Regions from separate parts of the Homo sapiens genome. Here all the other regions are linked to region 2. The links are contacts of gene promoters, found by promoter capture Hi-C in blood cells and fetal thymus (Javierre and others, 2016). All regions are on one chromosome and are shown on one strand. The core of a region is centred on a gene start or on the middle of the fragment in contact, and the rest is flanking DNA. Distances in the headings are between cores, read along the strand shown. Region 1 overlaps PRMT3 (protein arginine methyltransferase 3). Region 2 holds the start of C11orf58 (chromosome 11 open reading frame 58). Region 3 holds the start of BMAL1 (basic helix-loop-helix ARNT like 1). Region 4 holds the start of FAR1 (fatty acyl-CoA reductase 1). Region 5 overlaps BTBD10 (BTB domain containing 10). Region 6 has its middle 4.2 kb from the start of HTATIP2.

Region 1 (4,164 bases), core at 417-2,916, 3.7 Mb before region 2:
TACAGAAATTAAACAAAAAGGAAATCATGTTTGCATTACACAAAGTCAGTATGTCTCCAAAAAGTCTACGTGCCTGTCATTTCATTAACTTGCTGGACGACTGCTTAACCAGCAGTTTCAACGCAGAGTTTTTTTTACTGTTTGGATTTGGGGAAAGCGTTGTCATGTCATTAAACATTCATTTAAACAGGACAAAAAAAAAAAAAAACAAAGTATCTGAAAAAAAACAGAATAAAAAAGAGCAACCAAAATACTTAAAATCACATTAGAAATTATTTCTGATTTTACAGATCCTGTCCATCAGTATTTCCCTTTATTTGACACTGAATTACTTTTTCACATACACCGATTCATCTCTTAGATGCAGTGAAAACAATATTTGTTAGTTATGGTAGACATTTACATGGTGCTTTCTGCTGTGCTACCTCCTAATGTCCGTGATTCCCCCAATATGATGAGTACCAAATTTAATGCAGTTCCTCATATTCTTTTAAATAATCAGTACACTGACAGTCACTGTAGCATTTCTTTGATTTCTAAACGAAATTATAAATTAAGCTGTCAACTTACCTTAAGTCTAATAAAATTTATTAGCTTAATGTATCCATAAAATTCAAGTCCTAAAGGGGGAAAAAGATAATTCACCTATGTTAACATAATGAGTTTTGTTTAACTGACCTATTCTATAAAGCCTTCTCTGATTAAACAATAAAATAATTCTGACCTCTAAATTACTACTTATATTTTGAATTTTATTAAGAATTAGAAGTAGTAATACAATGATACTTCTGAATATCTTGAGAAGCAGCCATAAATGACAAATTAAAGCTTTTCTAGTATTTCTAAAAAGATGGAAAACTGATTTCTAAAATTCTACTCCTCCTTTGTCAGAACAATACAAATCTGGAAAATTAAGATCCACATTTTACCAAGTATTTGGCAACTGATATCAGAGCTGAAAGTATTAAATCCCTAATTTTTATGGTGTGTATCAAATTATAATTTTGCCAGGACATGGTGTATACTAGCTTTTACATGAAGTTAAATGATGCAAGCCCAATAAGGCTTGTTATCTGGTTCTCGTATCTTTCCAGAAATGAAGCAGCATTTAAAACAAAGGAAAGCAGTAATACATCCAACCAACCAATTATTTGTCATAAAACTCTTGTTATGAGAAAACTTTAATAGTATACAAACCCCCTATATCGGTAAGTAAAAAAAAAACAAAACAAAATTCTATCTTAAGTATGATTCTAATACTTTAGAAATGCAACATTAAAAACATTAAGGCTGGGCACAGTGGCTCATGCCTGTAACCCCAGCACTTTGGGAGGCCAAGGCAGGCGGATCACCTGAGGTCGGGAGTTCCAGACCAGCCTGACCAACATGGAGAAACCCTGTCTCTCCTAAAATACAAAATTAGCCAGTGTGGTGGCGCATGCCTATAATCCCAGCTACTTGGGAGGCTGAGGCAGGAGAATCACTTGAACCCGGGAGGCGGAGGTTGCAGTGAGCCGAGATCGTGCCATTGCACTCCAGCCTGGGCAACAAGAGCGAGACTCCGTCTCAAAAAAAAAACAAAAACAAAAAACATTAAAAAATGAGGCTGTCATTTATGCCTTACGAAAGTACTTGCAGTTGAATTTATGATTTATAAACATGTGATATCACGTATTTATCTGACACTGAAACACCTGTTAGTATTTGCTATTCTTCAGTAATGTCCCTTCTTAGTTGTCAACAAATATAGGGACCAAAAAACCTATTATTTTTTTTTTTTTGAGACGGCGTCTCAGTCTGTCACCCAGGCTGTAGTGCAGTGGCATGATCTTAGCTCACTGCAACCTCCGCCTCCCGGGTTCAAGTAATTCTCCTGCCTCAGCCTCCCAAGTAGCTGGGACTACAGGCACATGCCACCATGCCCGACTAATTTTTTGTATTTTTAGTAGAGTTGGGTTTTCACTGGGTTAGCCAGGATGGTCTCGATCTCCTGACCTTGTGATCCATCCGCCTTGGCCTCCCAAAGGTTTTCACTGGGTTAGCCAGGATGGTCTCAATCTCTTGACCTTGTGATCCACCTGCCTTGGCCTCCCAAAGTGTTGGAATCACAGGCGTGAGCCACAGCACCTGGCCTATTTAGTTAATTTTATTGTAGTATAGCTCTTCTACATCCATTTAAAGTGGAAGGCCTTAATTGTAAGGCAAGTGTGTTTAAATAAAAGTTTCAATAGAAACATCACCTGAGTATTTTGCATATTAATCTTAACTTCATCACTCTTTTTCCAGTCTCTACCGAACTTTGTATAAAACTCAGTCTCGTAGGCTGTGAAGTTCATGTCATGCTTTGAGCTGATTGTCTTTTTTCAAATGACCTGCGTCCTTTTTCAAGTCCTACATCTACACTTGCTCTCCCTAAATCTAATATGTAATCACATAAAATGTAAAAATGTAATCACATGCCAAGTCTGTTTTTGTTTTTAGTTGAAAAGCTAATATAAGCTTAAATACAGTGAATCTTGTCTAGAAGAGTGACTTATTCATCTTTTCTCAAGGACCGCTTGTCAAAAAAACTCCATTTCCACAAGATGTTGCTGTGTGATTCGCCATATTAAACTCGTACAGAAAAGGGTCTGAAAAACTATAAAATCTGAACTTATATTTCACAGATTTTTTTTTTTTTTGAGAAGAGTCTCACTCTGTTGCCCAGGCTGGAGTGCAGTGATACCATCTCAGCTCACTGCCACCTCTGCCTCCCAGGTTTAAGCAATTCACCTGCCTCAGTCTTCTGAGCAGCTGCTATTACAGGTGTGCGTCACCACACCCAGATAACTTTTGTATTTTAGTACAGGTGGGGTTTCAGCATGTTGGCCAGGCTGGTCTTGAACTCCCGACCTAAAGTGATCCACCCACCTCAGCCTCCCAAAGTGCTGGGATTACAGGTGTGAGCTGCCATGCCTGCCCAAATTTCACAAATTAAATTGCCTTTATTCTAAAAACTACTCACCATGTTTATGAACCATGCTGTCAATATTAAACTGATGCTCAGACTTACAGTGTGAAAATGTTTCTTCAGCAGATGTGAATAACCTGAAAAATCAAGCAATAGCTTCATGGAATAGTCCCCTAAGAAGTCTAAATACTGATTTCATGTTACATATACACTTTTTTTTTTTTTTTAACTCTGCTGGTTTCTAGTTTTACTTCCAATTAAGAAAAAACAAACACACTTGTATCTGAAAGGAAGGGAATCCAGCACTTTTAAAGGGAATTAGTACTTCTGAGTCCCATTTTATACCTAAAACCAATTATCCTTTAAATGTCAAAGTGAATTTATTTGTCAAATAATATCACTGATTTTATCAAAAGGCTTTTAAGAGAGTTCCCTTTGATAGAGTCTGTTTCTCTCAAGTCATACAATTTCTCTACTTGAGATTCTTTTCTCCTCTAAGTGTCAACTCTGCTTTCAGAGGCTTTGAACTGGCACAGCTCAAACTGCTTTTAGAAATAAAGCATAAAATGTAATTTTACAGCTGGCATACTCCCCAAGTGCCTTATTTCAAAAGTGATCTTGTAGTATTCCCAACGTACTTGCATCACAGACACTGTGAGGATCAATCCTCTTTATTATGTGACATGCAAATCTGAAGGCTACTTAAAGACAGGAATACACAGCAGAGAAGCTGTATACCTTATCTATATTCCTAACACATGTGGAGCATTAGTTTTCCACAAATGTTTACCGAGATAGGTTATGTCGACTATTTATGGAGGCTATCACAGCCACGGTACCACTGGTGCTCAATAAATATTTTATGACAACTAGAATATATACAGGCATTCTATCTACCCAATGGGGCTACAGATGAGAACACTAACGCACCACCACTCAGCACCATGCCCAGATACAGGGAACACTGGAAAATGTATTAAAGTAACACCGGCCAATGCCAACCGGGCCTCTTTCATGCCTACTTGCCTAGGACAGGAGCCAAAGCTTCCCAAGACTAACAGGCAGAATTTTAAGTGGCAAGAATGTGAGTTTGGAAATAAGCACACCACAGCTTTGTGACCTTGAGCAAATTATTGATACTACAGTCTTTTTCCTTAAGTGAAAAGTCCTACTTAAGTAAGGTGAACTTCCTTCTTAGACTATGGAAACCGCTC
Region 2 (4,153 bases), core at 339-2,838:
AACAGGTGTCTGATATCCTAGCAATCAAGTCACATTTAAAGATCAGGAGGAAAACAATGTAACAGCTTTTTAAGTGGCAGCCAGGTTACTCAAAAGTGTGGATCAATTCCTGACAAAACCTGAATTACCATATTAACAAGATCTAAAATCCAGTAGCAGAAATAACAGAGAGCAAGAATAAACTTCTCTAGGTGCCCATTCATCCCCAAATCTTTACTGATTGCTAATCTTTCTGCAGAGCTGAAGTCGATTCCTTTAAAGATCCTTAATATTCCGGTCCTCGCCCCACCTCCCATCAGAGGGGTAGGTCTTAACATTATCTCATTTGCTACAAAGTAGTATTCAGTGGGCTTTTAAAATTTTATGAAGAGCGTTGAAATGCACTATCGAAAAATTTAAAGCTCTATGTATTCAGAAATTGACAGTACTTTAAACAAAACCGAAAAAAAACCTAGATATCCCTTCATCTTCCTTAAAGATGACCTCTCCGCGCTCTCTCCAACAATTTTCCCCATCAACGTTGCCAAGACACTTATCCATTGTATGAAGGACCTAGTTTTACGTTTACTGGTTACCTACCGTTTCCATGACACTGGGCTAGGAGCTAGGACAAATATACAAAAAGGCCTAAAATAAGCATCATATTTCTCTCCGAATTCCCAACACCCGGCAGTGCAGTAAATATTTAACGGGTTACTTTAAGGGATAAACCGTTTGCTATTAAAACCTATGAGGTGAGGGCTGAGGAAGGGAACGGCATTTGATGGGGAGACGAGGTAAGAAGAACGAGGTATTAATATCCGACATCAAAATGGGCTTCTAGGTCTCAACGTCTTAGACCTCACCACCAGAGCCAGTACCAAATTACACCCGTGGCACAATTTTCGGCTCAATACTGTTCTCGGTTTACCCTTACTAGTGCAGCTAAAGTTAACTCTCAACAGCACATTGTAAAAATCATCCAGGCAGGAAAAATCTGTACAAACGTGCACGAACATTTCGACATTGTCACGGGAACATTTAGAACCCAAAACAGGGAGAGTCTTGCCGTCTCTATACTGAGTACAAAGGCCCGAGAAAGCACTCTCATCGGCCCCCCAAAACGCACGTACGAAATCCCTTGACTAAGCTCTTTCACTCCTCGACCCTCTCAGAATTTCCTTCCTCAATCCCCCTTCCTACGCAGGTCTCCGGCTCTCAGCGTGTGGGCCTCTTCAAACCTTCTGACCCTCATAAAGATTAAGGGAGGCATTTCCCACTCATTCTTCTGGTTTCTTCCCTGGGCTCTCCCGCTGCAGGCCACCTCAGGCGCGTCCTCCTCCAACCACCCTTCCCGGCCTACTCCAGGCTTTAGTAGGCCTCAACCCTCAGCCACTCCGCCATTATTATTTACATCGTCGTCTGGGGAGGCTGAACGCTTCACCCCATGCGGGTGAGACTCTCTGGCAGCACTCATCCTTGCGGGGATCCCGACGAAAAATGCCGAACCCTCTCGCCGCTCTTCCCAGCCGCAAAACCAGCAGCTTACAATCCGCCAAGGGCCCAAGCAGCGCCACTACAGAACGCAGAGCCCCTCCGGGCCTTCTCTGCCACAGTCGTCACCGTTGCGGCCCCTCGCCGCCCCGGGGCACTTTGGGAGTTGTAGTTTTCTGATTCATTGCATACTGGCCCGAATAAAAAAGATGTGTCCGTGACTAAAACTACAATTCCCAGGAAGCCCCGAGGCTCAATTCGCGCTGTGTGGCGGGAGTGCCCTCAGAGGCCCCGCCTTCGGCTGGTGGAGGAAGCGTTCCCGCGGATGTGTATGGCGGTGAGCGTTGGCCGAGAGCTTTGTCGCCACAGGAGGAGGCTTAGAGGGGTTTTTGCCTTTCACCGTGCAACGCTGCCCTACTGGCAAATGTATCATCGTAGCTAGGCACCTATGTTTAAATGTAATGTTTGAGGCTGACTGAATCCTCACGAATACCCTCCACCCAGGACAAAAACCTTAACCAAAAATGGCTTCTACCATTTCCACCCTGGTGTTCTCTATTGCGCGCAGGGGATTTCTAGGTGGTCGGTGATGCTGCTTTCTAAATGTTTTCATGAATATTTCGCTGTTTTCCCATACAGAAATGAGTTCAGTATGTTGTTAAATGTTGGCTAATTGGCGGTTGTTGAAAACGGGGATTTAGCTGAGGGAAATCTGTTAAGTTTTCATATGGCTTTGTGTGAGGTGGGAGTGCTCCTCACTGACCTCGCTGTGGATGTCTGGGCACCGTTACAGTAGGGGCCTTCACCAAGCAAAGTCCATCCCTGCCACAAAAGCCTCTATTTTTTTTCTTTTTTAAAAAAAGTAATTATTGAGGTTAAATTCACATATAAAATTAACCATTTTTTAAAAAGTGTACAATCCACTGTCACTTAGTACATTCACAATCGTGTGCAGCTGTCACCTCTGATTCCAAGAAGTTTCACCACTCCAAAAGGAACCCCAATGCCCGTTAGCAATCCCTCCCCATTTCTCGCCCTCTCTCCAGATTCAAGTGATCACTCCTCTACTCAAAAAGCCCTGCATTTAAAGCTATTTATTGTTCAGATACTGAAGACTATCTCCTACTTTATTAAGGTGTCTGAATTTGTAACCAGGTCTGAACTTAACTTTCTGTCAGAATCCTTGTCCTTAATAATTCTGAAGCTTTCTCACCTTGAATACAAATGTGATTTTTTTTTTTTTTAAGCAAAAATTAGGCCTGGCGCCATGGCTCAGGCCTGTAATCCCCAGCATTTTGGGAGGCTGAGGCGGGTGGATCACGAGGTCAGGAGTTCGAGACCAGCCTGATCAACATGGTGAAACCACGTCTCTACTAAAAATACAAAAATTAGCCTGGCATGATGGCACATGCCTCTAATCCCAGCTACTCGGGAGGCTGAGGCAGGAGAATCGCTTGAACCCGGGAGGCGGAGGTTTCAGCGACCCAAGATGGCGCCACTGCACTCCAGCCTGGGTGACAGAACGAGACTCGGTCTCTAAATAAATAAATAAATAAATAATAAGTGGTATGGATAATACATATCTGCTGTTTCAGAACTGAGAGCAGTCTGTGAAACAATGCTTAGCTATTAGCTTTTGAACTCAGCAATTGCTCTAGTTTCACTGCCTGTGTACAAATATTACTTACCTAGATTTCAGATCCTCACTGAACTGTGACCAGTGGAAGGTAGTTTTTAAATTTATGCAGTCATAGATTCAAATTCTCCCTTATTTTGGAAGCAGAAAAATAGCATAATAGTAAGTACTATAATAGAAAAAGAGATGTCAGGGTTACATTTTATAAGTATAACCAAACAAAGAACATCTTAATGGTTCTGTGGTAAGAATAAATCATAAAGGAGGAGGAGAGTAAACCCAAGAGAAAAAAAAGAAACATTGTTTTAGGAAGTGGTTGATTGCTTTTTGCTAGAATTAAAATATTTTCACTACTACATAATTCTACTTAGGTTCTATTAGTTACAATGAAATTACATTTAAGTTACAGAGTTTTGCAGTTTCGACTACAGTTCACCTCTAATGGGTTTGACAAATGGTGATTTAGAACTATTAGCTATATTACCAAAACAAATAAGATGGCTGAATAGGTACTTTAGACTGCTAAAAGATTTCTGAAATAAGAAAGGATTGTCAATAAGAATAGTAGTTACTATATAATTTTAATTTTACTAGTTGGTGAAAGTCCAGAAAACTTTAATGAGCTAGCAACATGTCTTTTATTTCTTCACCAGAATTGTTGGCACCTGGATGGTAAATCTTCAAGTTACTGTGAAACAAGATCACAAACGAAAAAGTAACATAGGAAATACTAAAGACTGGGACATTTTATCAGATTTTACTCAGTTTCATATACAGAAGGCTATAGGTAAGGATGAAATTATACAGTGTAATAGAATGCATATATGCCACAGAAACTCAGTAATGCTCCTCTTTCTTGTATTGTAAAAACAAAGATACACTATCATGAGTGAAACAATGAAATACCTCCTTCAGAATTGGGACTGTTGCATCTGCATTTTTGTTTCTGGCGCAATGCCTGCCACACGGTAGTTAATAAATGTTTCTGAATTAATATAGGAAGGATGAAATTATATAGTACCAGAGTGGTATCTTATATGAGGC
Region 3 (4,013 bases), core at 1,514-4,013, 3.5 Mb after region 2:
CGGGGCTGAAACTGTTTATTTAATATTGATTTTCCTACCACAGTGAGAGTTGATGATGAAATCACAAAGAAAGCTCAGATACATTATAACCCTTACACCAAAGAGAGATATTAACTATCTAGTTTTTACCTTTTCATATGCAGTTTTGTTAATACAGCCAAATCTTTCTATGGTGCTTCTCCATCTTTTAGCATATAAATTCCACAGAGATTGTTGGTGTGAAGGGATAAATCTGAAAACATGGCCACTTCCTTTTCCTGCCCTGTGGCATGCAAACCTCTTCTGCAAATAGCAGACAAACTCGTAAGTAGTCATCATTTTATAAATCATTTGAAATGGATTCTTCAAAACACCATCTGTTGATCTGCTTAACTTTCTTATGAAAATAGGGCTTCAGCTCAGATATTCTGGAGGTGCCAGGAGGTAAATACCAACCTGAATTCAAATGTATTAAATATTTAGAGACTTACAGAACTTCAAAAGAGAGGAACCTTTGAGATCACCTAGTTCAACCGTCTTACTTTCCATCAGAGGCAAACACAACCTAGAAATCTTTAATAACTTGCCCCGACTGGAACGGCCATGAGAGCCCAAGCCTAAACTAGAACCAGGATGTCCAGCTCCTAACTCCCAGGTTAGTGCTTTTCTACCAGATCTGTTCGTTCTTCAGAGGGTTGAATAAAGAACAAATTTAACTACAGTTTTAACTTATTGTTATCATTCACTGGCTGCATCTACAATCAAAACCAAAATGCTTCTACAGAACCAGCTTCAGATGATACAGGCAATTTCAAATCCTGTCCAGGAAATTTCCAAACCTTCTAAATATGTTCTATAAGCTGCGTTAAAGACTTATCAGTAAAATGATCTGAGTAACAAAACATGGACTGAAAGACTGAATTTTGTATTTTCAAAAATATTTGGGAATTCCATTGATATGGAAATCAAATATAACACCAGCGAATTTTTTTAAGTCTTGCAAGCAGAGAGAGCATGATATTATTCAAAACTGCTCAGGAGCAGCAATGATTATTTTAAGCTCATGATTCAACGGGTACATTAATTAAAAACTCCACCAACCCAAATTCACAGATCCGGATATCAATGAGACCAGAAGAATTAAAATAATAGTTGTCATTTAATAATAGATTAAAGGGGTGAACAACAGCAGATGTCAGAAGGACAAATGACAAGCAAGCAGGTGTCGTGGGAAATGAATGCATCTAAGGGGCAGCTTTTATGGATGTTTAATAAAACGACGATGCTGGAAATACGGGTATACGGGTAGTGTCAAGAAAAGCTTGTTCACAAATACGGAATCTGATTTTTGGAAGCTGGGTGAGAAAACTTGGCTAATAATTCCTCGCTGAGGAGTAGCGGTGGAAGAAGGAAGAGACCGCAAGCGCCAAAGCGCCAAAACAACGCTAGGTGACCGGGAAGGGGCCGAGGCGGAGAGGGGAGAGGGGTCAGGAGGTGCGGGGTGCGCGGCGGCAGCGGGTCTCTCACCGGCCGGCGAGAACTTGACAGCAGGCGCCGGTGTCCAGCACTCCCCTTCCCTCCCCAGCTCCTGCCGGCGGGCACCTGAGCTCACCCCGCTGCCGGCTCTCGCGACCCCTCGGGGAGGCTAACATGCGCCCCACAAGGTCGACGTTCACCTCTACCTTCCTCGTCTTCTTCCAAGCAAACGGGAAGCTCTCTGGGATGTCAACGCCCGGCAATAGCCGAGCGGGAACCTTTTCTTCCCTGACATCTGTCAAACCCGGAGCTGGAGCCAGGCTCGCTGCGCCCTCCGCGGAGCTCTGGGACTCCAAGGCCGGCCCGCACCCGGGCTCCGGGCGACATCCCCAGGCCGACGCGCACCTGCCCGCAGACCCACGGGGCATCCTTGAGGGCCGCCCAGGACCTGGACGGCACAGGCCCCACGAAAGTTCGCAGGCTGGGGTCGGCCCCGTGCCGGCCGGGGATTCCCGGGTGCAGCGCCAGCCCTGGCTACAGGGCCGAAGGGGCGGGCGGACTTGGACTCCCCAAGCCCGACGGAGACGCCCTCCCCGCCCCCACCCAGCCTCGCGGGCTCCCGAAAGGGAAGTGAAGCGGGGAGGAAGGGCAGACGCGGCACCGTTCGCCCAACGCCCTTGAGGGGCAGCCACCAGGCATGGTCCCCTCGGGGATCCCCGAAGCTCCCGGGGACACATCTAGGAGTCCTCTTCGGCCGAGTCACTGCCCCCAAGGGCAGAGCTATCCCTTTAAGAGGCAGCTAGCTGCCCCCTCCCCCCGCCAGGTAGCGATGCCCGCGGAAGGGCGGTGGGTACTCCAGCGAACACTTTCCCGGCCCCTTTAAGGGCTCCTGCAGCACCTCTGCCTGCCCTAGCCCGCAGCGGCAGCCCCCGCGAGGAGGATGGGGGCGGACGGGCGCGGCGCCTTTAAGGGGCGCAGCCTCCCCACGGCCCGGGTGGGGGCAGGGAGCGGTCACGGGCCCTTTAAGGCCGGCAGCGGGCACGTCGGGCAGGGTTCTTCGGCGGCCGGGTTGCCCCCGGGGCGGCGGCAGGGGCGCAGCGCCCGCGAGGGTGCTAACGGCCCCCGACGGGGTGCGCGGGATCGCGTCGCTGGCCGCCGCCGGCCTGACACTCACCGTGGCTCGCCGGGAGCGCCCGCGCCCGCGCCCGCACTCGGATCCCGCGGCGGCGGCGGCGGTGAGTCCGGCGCGGGTAAACAGGCACCTCCGTCCCTGACCTACTTTCTGCCTTCCCTAAATGTCGCACCACTAACCTACTTTCCGACCAATCCGCTCCCCGCCGGCCCAGGCCCGGCCCCCCGCCCACCAATCGCTGTGCCCAACCCCCCTTCCCCGCCCACCAATGGAGGAGCCGCAGCGCCCGGATACCTGCCTCTTCCCGCCAGCCAATCCGAACGCCCGAAGGGAGCCGGTCCCGGCGGCCGCCCCCAGCCAATCCGCGCGCGGCTCGGCAGCCCGCTGGCCAGTTGTGTGGCGGCTAGAGAGGCCGCTGACCAATGGCGAGGCGGCGGGAGCCGGTTTACCTGCTACTTTCCTGCCACCAATCATTTGGCGCACAGGAGCGCACGCCCCGAGGAGAGGACCAATCCGCGCGCGCTCCCTGGGTTCCTCGCCCCTGCCCTCTCCCTTTCCCCTCAGGTCTCCCACTAGCCGCGGCCACTGCGGTGCCCAAGCCGCGCTCCTCGGGGTCGCCCGGGATGTCCCTCTTCTCTGGGTCCCCTGCCGGCTGGCGTTTGGCCGCCCGCCCTCACCCCTCCTCCTTCTTCTTCTCCCCTCCGGGCATTCCGACGAAAAGCAGCAGTTCCTGACTCCCTCTCTCCCTCCGGCTCCATCTAGGAAACCAATTTTAGGAACGTTGAGTGCCAGACCCTTCCTAAAATCCCTGGTTTGCCAAAGTCTCAACGAGAGAACGGATACTTAGTATTTCTAGAAGGCATTTCCACCCCGAGGACTGCAAGTGTTCTCACGTTCTTTGCGTTCATCATGACCTCCAAGTGTCCCACTGGAGCTGTCATTCCCGTAGTTCCAAAGAGAATACTCGAGCGCGGAGCGATTCCATTGCATTTCCTTCCAGTAGCCAGGTTTTGACCACTTACTGAAGAGTAGACACCAGCCCCGCGGCAGCGCTCTCTGCTGCAAAAAGCTGTCTACGGAGCAAGACGGAAGGAAACAGTTACAGAAAATAAAAATTTGATAACGACATGCGACTCGGTTGCTGAGAGGACAGAGAAAGTGACTTATTTTTGCATCTCAGGCACTTTGTAGAGGGCCTTTAGCACAAAGAACTCCCGGCTCTTCCAGATGTTAAACTCCCTGAATAGAAGGACAGCGTCTTCTTTTTCGTTATCCATCATGTCAGCTCTCCTTTAGCGCCTGCTGGGGTAGGGTGGAGTGGTGGGGGCGGGGCTGGCACCCAACAAGTGCACCATAAATATCTGTTGGCTGGATACATGAACAAATGGAATTAAATAAATTGGCCTAATTCTGTTACCCAGACTGG
Region 4 (4,219 bases), core at 1,271-3,770, 3.1 Mb after region 2:
CCTTCCCTGATTCACTCCACGCCACTCAGATTACTTCTCTACTGCAAGTCGCCTCAGCACTTAGGTATTGTTATACTAAGGGCAAATGTGATCACAGTAAACAGCATCACTAAGAAATCGCTTTCACAAAATTGTTTCTAGATCATAAATAATGGTCCATTAGTTAAAATGCTTTGCTGATCTGGTTAACAAGCAAACATGTTACACAGCAAATGCTCTCTTTGGCTTCTGTCCTTGACTCTATAACTCTTCACAAACCTTTTGTCCTATCCTCAAACAGAAACTCTATCTCCCATTTAAATACACTGGAAATATGGTAGTGGGCCACCTTCTTTTCTACTACCTCTTCTCTGACCTCAGTCTCTGCCTCCAGCCTCTATCCACACCCCATAAATAAAAATTCCAAAAGCTTCAAATAGAATAGCAGTGATGCATACATACCATGTCTTTCCTGAGTGAAAAAAAAAAAAAAACCCTCAAGCTACTTAGCTACAAAATTCTTCACAAGGGTAATAAATTTCCCAACAAGCCTAATACATAATCAAACTCCAGAAAATTTATGTGGAATTTTTATGGATAAATTTATGGAATAATTTTGGCCGGCGCGGCAGCTAACGCCTGTAATCCCAGCACTTTGGGAGGCCGAGGCGGATGGATCTCTTGAAGTCAGGGGTTCGAGACCAGCCTGGCCAATATGGTGAAACCCCGCCTCTACTAAAAATACAAAAATTAGCCGGTGCGGTGGGGCATGTCTCTGTAGTCCCAACTACTCGAGAGGCTGAGGCAAGAGCTGATCACTTGAACCTGGGAGGTGGAGGTTGCAGCGAGCCAAGATCGCGTCACTGCACTCCAGCCTGGGCAACAAAGCGAGACACACACACACAAATTTATAAAATAAAAACAAAACAAAACAAAAATTATAAAATAATTTTATGGAAAATGTATGGAATAACAGGGCCTGGGTGGGGTGGCTCACCCCTGTAATCCCAAGCCTTTGAGAGGCCACGGTGGAAAGATCTCTTGGGCCGAGGAGTTTGAGGCTGGAACGAGCTATGATCTCGCCACTGCACTCCAGCCTGGGCGACAGCAAACCCTGTCTCTGTTTACTTTTTAAATTAATTTGAAAAAAATACATCAGGATTGTACTTATACGTTAATTCTCACTTGTATTACTGTAAGAGATCTTGCATCATTTTTATGCTATATTACACATGCCCAACATGACAGCTGAGAAACTCCCCTGGAGGGCAGATTTTCTGAGAGTATCTTCTGATGTTGTCTTTAAACCAACACTTTTTTTTTTAACATAAAGAATTAAGGGATTCCTGACTGCCATCTAGTCAAAAGCAAACAATATGTATGCCATTACTTCGGAGGGAGTGAGTTCTTGTGCTGCTGAGGCAAAACGAGATGAACTGTCACAGGGATGGCAGGAGGGGTGGAGTGTAGGAGGAGGATCAGCCCCAGTAGTGAGAATTAAAAACTCTTTTGAGTATTTGGCCCTCCACTAGCAGTAAATTAACCTTCAAACCTGACCAAGACACTACCTGAGACCCTCCACTCTCCGACACCGCAGAATCAGACAACTGTTCTTGCTCAACTACTCATAAAAGATTCACAGCCTTCACCTACCACACATAAATCTACCGCGTTTGCTGCTTGTATACTTTGTCCTAACAGACCAACTAATGCCTTCTAGTCCAATAGCCTCCCGTCCACACCTCACATAAAACCTTCTCAGCCACCTTCCGGTTTCAGTAGGTGCCTCTTACTCCAGATCCACGTGTCCCCAGTTCTCCAGAGACCTTCACCTTCAAAACCCAAGCCCGTCCCCCCTTCACTCCCAGCTGATCTCCACCCAGGCCCTATCAATCCTTACTTCTAATAGGCCAACCACACTCCCCGGCCCCGCGCCTTCTCCCTCAGCACCCTTTTCTGAGCATCACCTATTTCCCACCACTTTCTTCCTCCCCAGACCCGGAATCCTGCAATCACTAGGCCTCCCTTTGCCGCTACCCTCCCGCGAGCACGCGGAGCCCGCTGCTCGGCTAACCACCCCGCCCCACCTTCGCCACCTCTAGCGGCCTCCCACCCCAGGCGGCTCCCCGGGCTCCGCGGCTGCAAACCAGGCCCCACCGTACGTCCCCCACGCGGTCCCGGCCCTGTGAAGGGCGGCGGCGGGGCAAAGAGGGGCAGAGACCACCCGGGGTGAGGCGGGCGCCCTCACTTCTGGGCGTACCCGGGCGGGGGCGGGGGCGGGACGGCTGGTCGGCGCCCCCGCCTCGGCCAGGCCTGCAGCCCGAGCTCCCGCAACCACTTCCCGAGCCAGGCGAGGAGGAGCCCGCAGCCCGGCCGCTCCCGCTGGCGCACCCCCTTCTCACCTAGACGCAGAGGCTCAGGCCTCGCTCTCCCACTGGCCGTCCAGCAATAGCTGCGCCGCCGCCGCCGCCGCCGTCGCGCTCTCTTCACTCGCTTTTCCACCGCCCGCGACCGGCTGCTGAAGAGCGGACGGGCAGTGGCACGCCCATTGGCTGAGGCCCGCAGTCGCGTCAGCCGGCCCCGACCGCACCTCGCGACGTGACTGGCTGGAGCGGCGCCTCTTTTCGACATCCGCTTTTGATTGGCTCTCGCGCACACCCTTATCCGCAGGACCAGTCATCCTCCTCCCTGCTTTAGCCTCTCACCCCCAACCCGGTTTCCCTCCGGGCGGGAGTGGGGCGGGAGCGGACGCCCGCGGAACGCGAACGGCCAATGGGGGCGCGGAGAGAGGGCCGGGAGGTGGGCCCTGCGGCCGGGAGGCTCGCGGGGGAATGCTCAGCCAATGGGCCCGCGCCCCACATCTCGAGTCCTGGAGCGCCCCCGCCGGCTGCTGGCGTCCTGTCGGGTCGCGCCCAGGGCCACGCCCGGCTGTCCGTCGCGCGGGAGGGGCGCCAACTCCCAAGGTTGGGAGCACGCAGCGAGGCCCGCGCGGGAGACAGCGGGGCTGCCATTGTGGCGTGCTTAGCGCTATTATGGTGGGGCCCGGGGGCCCTCCGGCCATTGCTGGGCGTGAGGGATCCGTTCGGAGAACTACCAGCTTGGCGGGTGTGGCCCGGGTCGGTGAGAGCGAAGAGCTCTACGGACCCCTGGAGCCTCCACGGGTCTCGCCCAGTCCCAGGGGACTGTGGGCCCATTCATTCCACCTTCCACTTCCTCCAAAATAATTCCCTACAAAACTTACCGGTAGTGATAGGAGTTAGAATAACGTTTACTTCTGAGGGGTGGGGCACGAGGGAACCTATGGAAAGCTGGAAACATTGCGTCTTGATCCTGGTGGTCGTTCCGGGCTGTGTACACATGGAGGAATTCATCGAGCCGGACACTTAATAGTATTACCACATTCATACGGCTCATTTTTAAAAAATAATAAAAGGATCATGAGAATTCTGTAATAATATTACCACAATCTTTGGGCTCCGTGGGACTCCATTGTATAAACAGTCCGCATTAGGATTTAGCTGTCATTCAAAACATGCAAGCCATAGGAAGAAAAAAAAAGATTTGTGAGAAGCAAAAATGAGTGAACGCTCTTGGCACGGTGAATAGCATGCACAGGTTGGTATTTAGGGATGGATGGCTCAGAGTGATTTTTCTGTGGGGATTTAGAGCTTGTTTCAGTGCCTGGCCCTGTTAGTAGCTAAAAGCAGTCATAGTGCTGCATCCAGTTGGAAACTACAAAAGCTCACTGAACTGCCTACTTTGTGGCAGATGTTAAGTTCTGGCTCAGGAAACTAATTTGAATGCCATGGCTTCTGCCTCGATGAGCTCACAGTCTTGCAGCAAGTACTGTCATTTCTGGAGGAGGGCACAGAACACAAAGCTAACACACTTGCTTACCCTCAGGGATGTCGCATTCCGCTACTTTAGGCAAGACAGTGTATGCCTGGAACCCATCCAGTCCAATAGCCATAGTCATAAATAGCCAGGATCAGGTGAAACACTTCTTAGAAGTGGGTCAAAATATTCTCCCAAAACAAACGTAAGAACTATGGACCAAATTCTAATCTGTAAAAGAACACAAGCAACAAAACAAAGATTACAGTATTCATATTTATTAATTTAGTCATTAAGTTGTTTAAATCAGGTAAATGCCTTTATTTAAAGTGCTTGTCACTACACTAGGCATATAAACTTGGATATGACAGTATTCCACAGAACATAGGGTTTAATGGAGAGACAG
Region 5 (3,949 bases), core at 1,247-3,746, 3.3 Mb after region 2:
GATAGGTATATTAATTGATTAAACTTAGTGCCTTATACATAGTAGAGTTTAATGACGTGTGGAATTGACCTTTGTGGATTAAGCCTCATTTACCCATTAATGTGAAGTAATTTAATCACATAATCTGATTCATACCTAGTTGGGTTATGGGGAATGGGAGTGCTAGAGGTCAAAGCTAAGTAAGAGGTGTTTTTTAGGCATATAGAGGGCAAGTTGGGGGTCTTCACTTGGGATAAGGGTGAGAGAGGAAGTTAGGTAAGGGAGAGAATTTTGAAAAGGAAGATGAAATGATTAAGTACCCATTTGTGTATTGTGCAGTTTTAAAAAGAGGTCTGCCTTTTGTGGCTAAATTTATCATAACTTGTGCAGAGACTACATAGAATACTGGTTTTTAATCAGGACTGCTATGGGAATTTGCAGATTTTCTTTTCTTCATTTTAGCTCAGTCATCTCAGGCCAAGCTAGGCTAATATCTGTTCATTCAATCTCTGCCTCTCTCTGAAATAGGAAATGAAAGAAGAGGAGATATGTATTATGTTTGTGAGGTGCTCCTGTTGAAGAGTTATAAGACTACTTCTGAGGAATTTGTTTTATATTTGAGAAGATTGTGCTTGTTGAAGGGGGAACCATTATTTTCGTCTTTACTTGTTTCTACCATGACTCATAAAGTAGGAAGTTCTTTTTTGGAAATAGCTTTCCGCTTCTTCCCATCCCCTGAGTTGCCATCCCAAAGGAGGATCAGGGGAGGCTAAGGGAAGGGATTGAGTATACTTTTGTTCAGTGCCTTATGATTCAATTTTTGGGACTCTCAATTCTTAGGCTATACATTGTCTATTCATTTGTATGGTAGGCTTATCTGAGCAGGCTGGACTACTAATACTATGAGGGAGAAGGAAATGGAATGCCTACAGTTCTAACTGGGTAAGTTTAATTTGCAGTTGAAGTAATAAGGGTTTTTGCACGTTGGATTTAGTTATATTTTTACCATCATCTGTTTGGATCCTTTATTTTTTGTTGATTCTGAACCGAAAGTAAGGCGGGTCAGGAAGATACAGATGTTACCTTCTCCTGTTAATGGAGAAAGAACTATTAAAATTTTTCTCCCTTTTTAATAGATTCTTCATCAGGGTTCAAGCCAATGTTGCATTTCCCCTAGTGTATCTTGCTCGGGTTTACTTTGAGATCCTTGAAACTGAGACCTAGTTTGCTAAAGAATGTAGCAATCAGCCAGCCAGGCATGGTGGCTCACGCCTGTAATCCCAGCACTTTGGGAGGCCGAGGCGGGCGGATCACGAGGTCAGGAGATCGAGACCATCCCGGCTAAAACGGTGAAACCCCGTCTCTACTAAAAATACAAAAAAAATTAGCCGGGCGTAGTGGCGGGCGCCTGTAGTCCCAGCTACTTGGGAGGCTGAGGCAGGAGAATGGCGTGAACCCGGGAGGCGGAGCTTGCAGTGAGCCGAGATCCCGCCACTGCACTCCAGCCTGGGCGACAGAGCGAGACTCCGTCTCAAAAAAAAAAAAAAAATAAATAAATAAAAAAATAAATAAATAAATAAATTTTAATGCTCAGATACCTGACAGAGAATCTTAGGTACAAAATTGTACAAGCGTTGTTATGATTTTCTTGTTTTTGGGTGGCATACAAATAGTGCTGGATTGTTTCAAAGGTAATTACTTCATTCAGACAATTTATTTTATACAATGCAGGCTTGAATTTGATTTTTCTCACATCAAGAAAGCAAGCGATATGATCTGTTTCTTTCAGCTATTCATTTGTTCATTTAGAATTTTCTTAGAGAAGACCATAACCTCCTGTAAGATGGTTAACTGCGAGACATTCTTGTTTCTTACTTAGTTTTCCAAATTGTTGGAGTTTCTCTTTTAAAAGAGAATAATTATTAGAGAGACTGGTGGGATTATGAAACCATAATACTGAAAGTAACTTTAAAACCATTAATACTCCAATTTTTGGAAGAGAAAACTAAAGTGCAAATCAAGCCCCTTAACTGATTTTGATCAAAGATATTGGCAGGCAGTAAGACAGCTGAGACTAGAATACAAATCCACAAGTTTCCTGATTTGGAGTAGTTTGTTCCAGTGATTCCCCCTAGTGGGTTGCATGTGCTTTTGGGGATATATGAAAAACTTGTTCATTGTGCTGTATGAAGAAAACAATAGAACTTCTATTTATTTTTTACTGTATCCTTTTTAAATTTCCATTTCGTGTGTGTGTGTACTATATACATAATACTGGTGTGATAGTATATGTGCATTGTTTATAAATATACATATATACAGCTGTCCGTGTTACTTGAACTCAACATATTAAGAAAAGGAAAAACTGCCATATTTTAAAGTGGTATGGCATCTTTGATCATCTTTGCTTCCCTAGTGAATGATATTATTTAACAGTAGACTGGAACAGTTTTTTTTTTTTTTTTTTTTTTTGAGATGGAGTCTCATTATGTTGTCCAGGCTGACCTTGAACTTCTGGGCTCAAGTGATCCTCTCACCCCAGCCTCCCAAGTAGTTGGGATTATAGGCACATACCGCCACACTCAGCTTGAATGGCTGTTAATTTTGAAACTGTTTTATGATGAGTAGTTTGAAAAATTTCCTATAAAAATAGATTTATTTGGAGTAATTTCTTTCTGACTGTAAAAGTAATGGGTATTACATGCAACTGGGAACATTTAGCAAAGGGCAAAGAAGAAAATGGTACCATAATCCCATGACTCAGTGATAATTGCTTCCAGTCAGAAATATATGTGTGTACACAGATACATACATACACATATGAATATTACATACACCCCTTATTAATTTATTTGGAGTATGTAAGTCATTATGTGGTTCAAATATCTAAAGTATATCGAAAGAGAACTCAGAAGTCTTGATTACATCCCTATTACCTTCACCCCAGTCCTACTCTGCCCATATAGGTAACCATTTTGATTAATGTCTTTTTTATACTTTGAGTTGTTTTCTTTACAAAAATAAATACATGTGTATTTGTCTTTGAATATATGTACATATTTTTAAGTTTACCCTTTATGTTACAAAAGGTAGTACAATGAATACTGCTTGTTCTGTACCTACCTGTTTTTTGCTGTTGCTGTTTAACCTAACGATGTATTTTGGATATTAATCCGTTATTCTATTGTGTGGATGCATGTAGTTTATTCAGTTAACTCCTTTTGATGCACATTCCGATTGTTTTAGTCTTTTACCATTACAAATAATGCCACAGTGAATATATTTACAAATATTTTATGGAATATTAGTGGAGTTGTATCATCTTTGAAGTAGGACTAGTAAGTGTATGTGTAGTATTGTTGGATATTACAGAATTCCTTTCTACCAGGGTTATATAATCTGTGTTTTTCTTTTTATTTTATTTATTTATTTATTTAATTTTTTTTGAGACAGGGTCTCACTCTGTCACCTAGGCTGGAGTGCAGTGGCATGATCACCGCTCACTGCAGCCTTCACCTCTCAGGCTTAAGTGATCCTCCCACCTCAGCCTCCCAAGTAGCTGGGACTACAGGCATGTGCCACCATGCTTGGCTAATTTTTGTATCTTTTAGTAGAGATAGGGTTTCACCATGTTGCCCAGGCTGGTCTCAAACTCCTAGGCTCAAGTGATCTGTCCACCTCAGCTTCCCAAAATGCTAGGATTATAGGCGTGAGTCACTGCGCCAGACCCTCATTTGTACTTTTCATTGGCAGTGTATGCCAGTATTGAGACTGCTTCTCCACAGCTTCACCAACAGAGTATATGGCCAAAATTGGAGGTGTTAATTTGCATTTCTTTTATGAGTGAGGTTGAACATATTTTTATGTTTAAGGCCATTTGCCTTTATTTTTCTGAGGATTGCCCATTTCTTTGTGCATTGTCTGTTTTGGAGAAGAGAAATTGTCTTTTTCTTTCCTTCTTTAAGGAACT
Region 6 (4,556 bases), core at 1,600-4,099, 3.6 Mb before region 2:
TGTGCCTACTGTGCCAAATGAGTAAATCAGCCCTGGTTGTTTCATGTATCAGGAATTCATTCCTTTTTATTGCTGAGTAGCCTTCCAGTATTCCAGTATGAATATCCCACAACATGTTTAAATATTCTCCTGTTGATGGACATTTGGTTTGTTTCTACCTTTTGGCTAATTATGAATAAGGCTCCTATGAACATTATTGGACCAGTCTTTCTGCAGTAACATGTTTTCATTACTCTTGGACATATATATACACACACACACACACACATATAATGTTTTATATATATATATAATGTGTATATATATATAAAATGTGTATATATATAATGTGTGTATATATAATGTGTATATATAATGTGTATATATATAATGTGTGTGTATATATAATGTGTGTATATATATAAAATGTGTATATATATATATAAAATGTGTATATATATATAAGATGTGTGTGTGTGTGTGTATATATATATATATATATATATATATATATATATATATATATATAATATAATGACCCTGCAGGCAATCAGACCTTTTGGTTGTCTTCCCTTGTCCCCTAAAAATTGCTGTTATTCTGTTCTTTTTCAAGGTGCACTGATTTCATATTGTTCAAACACACGTTTTACAATCAATTTGTACAGTTAATACAGTTATCATAGTGGTCCTGAGGTGACGTATATCCTCAGCTTACGAAGATAACAGGATTAAGAGATTAAAGTAAAGACAGGCATAAGAAATTATAAAAGTATTATTTGGGAACCGATAAGTGTCCATGAAATCTTCACAATTTATGTTCCTCTGCCGGAGCTCCAGGCAGTCCCTCCATTCGGGGTCCCTGACTTCCCACAACACACTTGCAAGCTAGCACGAGCACGTGACAGTGATTTAGCCAACGAGAAGCAAGCAGAGGTAATATGTGCACATTTGAATCACATCTTTATAAGGAAGTTACCTTCTTTCCTTTCACTTTCCCTTTCCCTTCACTTTCCCTTTCCCCCTTTGCTTAGGCCAGAATGTGAATGTACTGGTAAACCAGCTCTGACCATGAGGAGAAAGACACTCTCTAGAGGATAGCAGGGCAAGGAGCCCTTGGATGACTTCATAGAACAGAGCCGCCTGCCCACCCTGGACTGCCGGCACACCTCTGGGGAGTGAGAGAAAAATCAACTTCTGTCATGTTGGAGCCACTGTAATTTTGTTACAGCAGCTTAGCCAGCATTTTGCCTAATGTAAGATTCTTTTAGTCAATCTTGTCAATGGATATTTACTGATTATCTAATGCAAGCCAGATACTGTGCTAGGCACAATAGATTTTTCCAAGGTGAATCAGGGACACCAGCTAAATTCACTCTCATCTTGAAGGCAAGTCATAAATACTTGGGAAGCTAAATAAAGTTAAGCAACATTATAAAACATCCCCCAAACTTTCACAGGGTGGCACATGCTGAAGGCCAAATGAGCATACAGAAATAGAAGGAAACTCAGAGAAAAACAAGTCCATGCCTTTCCTTCTCTGACAGCTGGAACCATGTCATCCAAGTGCTGAGATAATGTGACAAGACCTAGGCTCCTAGAGCAACCGGACCACAAAAATTCAGGGCAAAGGGGAAGGGGAAAGCATAGGGAAGGAGGGAAAGGGGACATAAAGAAACGGAGCTGGCATGGAAAGATCCTTGGCCAGAGACCTGCCTGCCACGTTCAGGTTTGCCTTTGATGAAGTCTCTTCATATATCTTGGCCTCCATTTCCCTATCTGTAAGATGGGAACTGTTTCATTACATTCGCTTTGCTCCAAGGAACAAACTGACTCATGGCGAGTAAAGATGGTGAATATTGTAATATTGTAAGGCTATAAATCATGTATAAGAGAGACAGAATCTCAGAGAAATCTCAAAACAGGATCTGCTGTAGGATGGGGCCTTAGGGAGACTGGAACTGTATTTAGGTCAGATTTAGAGTCCTCAGGATCAGGGATCCATGCATCTTCACTTCAGAGCTATATTTTTAGTTATACCTTCATTAAGACTCTGTTTCACGTGTTTGAAGCCCCAAACTCAAAATGTTTTGAGGAAAAAAAAAAAGGAAATGTCCTGGCTCATGCAACTAAAGAATCAGTGTATATAATAGTCTTGGCATGACCAGAATCAGCCAGTCAGCCAATGGGGCCAGGACCCAGTCCCTCTGCCAACCATGGCTCTATTTCCCTTCACGTCGGCCTTACTCTCAGACCCTGCAAGATGACCCAAAGGCTGTGCTCTTGCTCATACTCTTCATTGTCTAAATTCAACCAGAAGCTAGAGGGAACTTATATTGTGCAGACCAGTTTTCTTCAGGGCATACAATAAGGTAGATAAATGAGGAGAATGGATGATTGAAGCTATCAAGTACATCCCCCTAGATTCAAGTCCAGTAGAAAGAGCATAACTGTAAGCAGAAGTCCCCAGCTGTATCTCCTTAGTTCTGATTAAACCTTATGATTGTCACTGTGGCTCTGGGAATGAAGCCGGGTGGGGCTATCTCTTCCCACATGTCTGGGAGTAGGGGAGGAAGTAAGGTCCCCAAGGAAAGTAGAGGTCACTATTATAGAAAGAAAACAGAACGGATGTTAAATAGCATCTAAAGTGGCTATACTTGTTCCCCATTTATCTCATTTATTTGTAAATATGAATGCTAGATAATTTTTTTTTTTTTTTAACAAATGAGAGCTTTAAATAACTGTAGCATGACTAAGATATCTGGTTGGGCACATAAGAGGTTGGATTTGGTAAAGGTAGGTGTCTGAAAGAAAGTATTGTAATTTTCTGCTCTCACATAACAAATACAACCATGAATTGCATTCAACAGTTTAGGTAGTTGATTTAGTGTATCTATCGTGTTCTTGATAGCTAATTGTTTTTATAGATGGAGAAACTGAGTCACACGTTTATTAAATATATCATCTAAGATCTTGGGATTCAACTTTGGTGCCAGGACAAGAACCTGGATATCCAGATCAATGACAAAATCATGAGTAATACCTGTGTAATTCTAGAATGTTTTCAGGAAAGCATAATTCTTCTTGTTTTTAGCTGATAGCACTGTATTTGTTAAATTCTTCAGGTTCCCTAGCACTCATGGGTATGTCCTCTTACTGATATATACCAAAGGAATAACCTATGTAAAAGCACTGTGGTAGGTAGAAGTATGGCTGGTTTTGAAGGGCCAAAAACCAATATGCTTGAAATGGAGAGATGGAAGCATGGGGCAGGGGCAGGGCAGGGGAGGGGAGACTAGAGAGGCAGGTAGGGACCAGCCTGTGAAGGACATCATAAGATACATTATCATTTATAATTATTGTTAAATTTTAGGTTTTAAAATTTAGCAAACTTGATTTTATTAGATTTATTTTTTATGGTTTTCTTCTATTCAAGGTAGTGAAATATTACCTTAATTACCATTAATACATTTATTAGTACCTGTTACTAGTAGTACATTTAACAAAGTTTAAAAAAAAAGAGGACGTTTTCATAAAATATTAAGTACAGCTGAGTGTATTGTAAACATAGGATATGGTAAACTCATGAAAATAGTATCTGAAGGAGTAAAGTTTGGGAAACACTGGTATGTTGGGCATTTTTCTTTTTTCTTTCTTTTGTGAGATATGATCTTGCTCTGTCGCCCAGGCTGTAGGGCAGTGGCATGATCTCAGCTCATTGCAACCTCTGCCTCCCGGGTTCAAGCTCCCACAGCCTCCCGTGTGGCTGAGACTACAGACACGCATCTTTTTTTTTTTTTTCTCCAGAAACAGGGTTTTGTCATGTTGCCCAGGCTGGTCTTGAACTCCTGAGCTCGAGTAATTATCTGTGTCAGCCTCCCAAGTACTGGGATTACAGGCACATTTTTCATTTGCCCCTCCAGATCCACTTTCCACTCTCTGTATCCTTTTCTGTGACTCCACAGCTGACCTCTAAGGCCTGCATCACCCAGTCTACCTTGTCCTCCTTGACCTATCACCTACCTTGGTGATAAGAGTCACCAGTAGGAAATTGAAGCAGAGGAGGAGTATGGGGTTAGGGGCTTTATTCCCCTGAATTCCTGCTATGAGATTGCTATTCCTCGACCCAAGAGCCTCACTCCTGTCTGATAGCCTCCCTGACAGCTGCAGGCACTCTCTCCAGGTTCCAGTAACCACCTCCTTGCCTCAACCTTTTAGACTTAGGAGTAGAAATGGCTCCCCGCTATTGCTAGCACTGAGACACAGCACCATTCCTTGTTGGGTTTTCTTTAACCCTTCCTGCTTCCTTGTAAATAATCTTTCACTAAATTCTCCCTCAGTTACTCTGTTGGAACATGTTCTCTGTTTCTTGCCAGGACCCAAACTGATACACATGATGTGGTAGAAAGCAACTTTGCAGTCAGACGGAAGTAGATTTGAATCCTGGCCATCCACTTAGTAGCTGTGTGACCTCAGTGAAGTCCAACTAGATAAGCACAATATTTATCAAAACAGGAAGACTCTGCTCTGTGAGGTCAGCCACCACATCTATCTCACTGCTACAGCCCCAGCTTTGGGGC

The links. The method cuts DNA at HindIII sites, captures the fragments that hold promoters and counts their contacts. A CHiCAGO score of 5 or more calls a contact.
Region 1: a fragment that was not itself captured here is called in contact with the fragment with the promoter of C11orf58 in region 2 in 8 of 17 cell types (naive CD8 T cells, total CD8 T cells, total CD4 T cells and 5 more); the score reaches 15.3 in naive CD8 T cells.
Region 3: a contact is called between the fragment with the promoter of BMAL1 here and the fragment with the promoter of C11orf58 in region 2, in 4 of 17 cell types (total B cells, naive CD4 T cells, naive B cells and 1 more). The highest score is 6.9, in total B cells.
Region 4: a contact is called between the fragment with the promoter of FAR1 here and the fragment with the promoter of C11orf58 in region 2, in 1 of 17 cell types (naive CD8 T cells). The highest score is 5.9, in naive CD8 T cells.
Region 5: a fragment that was not itself captured here is called in contact with the fragment with the promoter of C11orf58 in region 2 in 1 of 17 cell types (total B cells); the score reaches 5.3 in total B cells.
Region 6: a fragment that was not itself captured here is called in contact with the fragment with the promoter of C11orf58 in region 2 in 5 of 17 cell types (non-activated CD4 T cells, total CD8 T cells, activated CD4 T cells and 2 more); the score reaches 10.4 in non-activated CD4 T cells.

What each region holds. Positions count from the first base shown.
Region 1 is chr11:20,388,667-20,392,830 of GRCh38, reverse strand. PRMT3 (protein arginine methyltransferase 3) reads right to left here. Exons shown (of 16, transcript NM_005788.4): 3 at 3,005-3,087; 4 at 571-620. Among named protein-coding and RNA genes, the nearest start is that of PRMT3, 3.0 kb to the right of the region's middle. RefSeq lists an enhancer at 4,150-4,164. The HindIII fragment of the contact is 1,671 bases long and covers 831-2,501 here.
Region 2 is chr11:16,736,082-16,740,234 of GRCh38, reverse strand. C11orf58 (chromosome 11 open reading frame 58) reads right to left here and starts at 1,588. Exons shown (of 5, transcript NM_014267.6): 1 at 1,394-1,588. The coding sequence starts at 1,456. It also overlaps a transcript of SOX6 not described here. RefSeq lists an enhancer at 1,085-1,714. The HindIII fragment of the contact is 4,072 bases long and covers 1-2,679 here.
Region 3 is chr11:13,276,540-13,280,552 of GRCh38, reverse strand. It overlaps BMAL1 (basic helix-loop-helix ARNT like 1), which reads right to left and starts at 2,763. Exons shown (of 20, transcript NM_001297719.2): 1 at 2,630-2,763. RefSeq lists silencers at 1,753-2,092, 2,373-2,442, 2,513-3,162. The HindIII fragment of the contact is 3,232 bases long and covers 1,303-4,013 here.
Region 4 is chr11:13,666,969-13,671,187 of GRCh38, reverse strand. FAR1 (fatty acyl-CoA reductase 1) reads right to left here and starts at 2,520. Exons shown (of 12, transcript NM_032228.6): 1 at 2,382-2,520. RefSeq lists an enhancer at 1,961-2,010 and silencers at 2,091-2,370, 2,481-2,970. The HindIII fragment of the contact is 7,046 bases long and covers 412-4,219 here.
Region 5 is chr11:13,456,638-13,460,586 of GRCh38, reverse strand. All of the region lies in intron 1 of BTBD10 (BTB domain containing 10), which reads left to right. Among named protein-coding and RNA genes, the nearest start is that of BTBD10, 4.6 kb to the left of the region's middle. The HindIII fragment of the contact is 7,206 bases long and covers 1-3,949 here.
Region 6 is chr11:20,357,273-20,361,828 of GRCh38, reverse strand. No RefSeq gene overlaps it. Among named protein-coding and RNA genes, the nearest start is that of HTATIP2, 4.2 kb to the left of the region's middle. RefSeq lists an enhancer at 877-1,096. The HindIII fragment of the contact is 7,195 bases long and covers 1-4,556 here.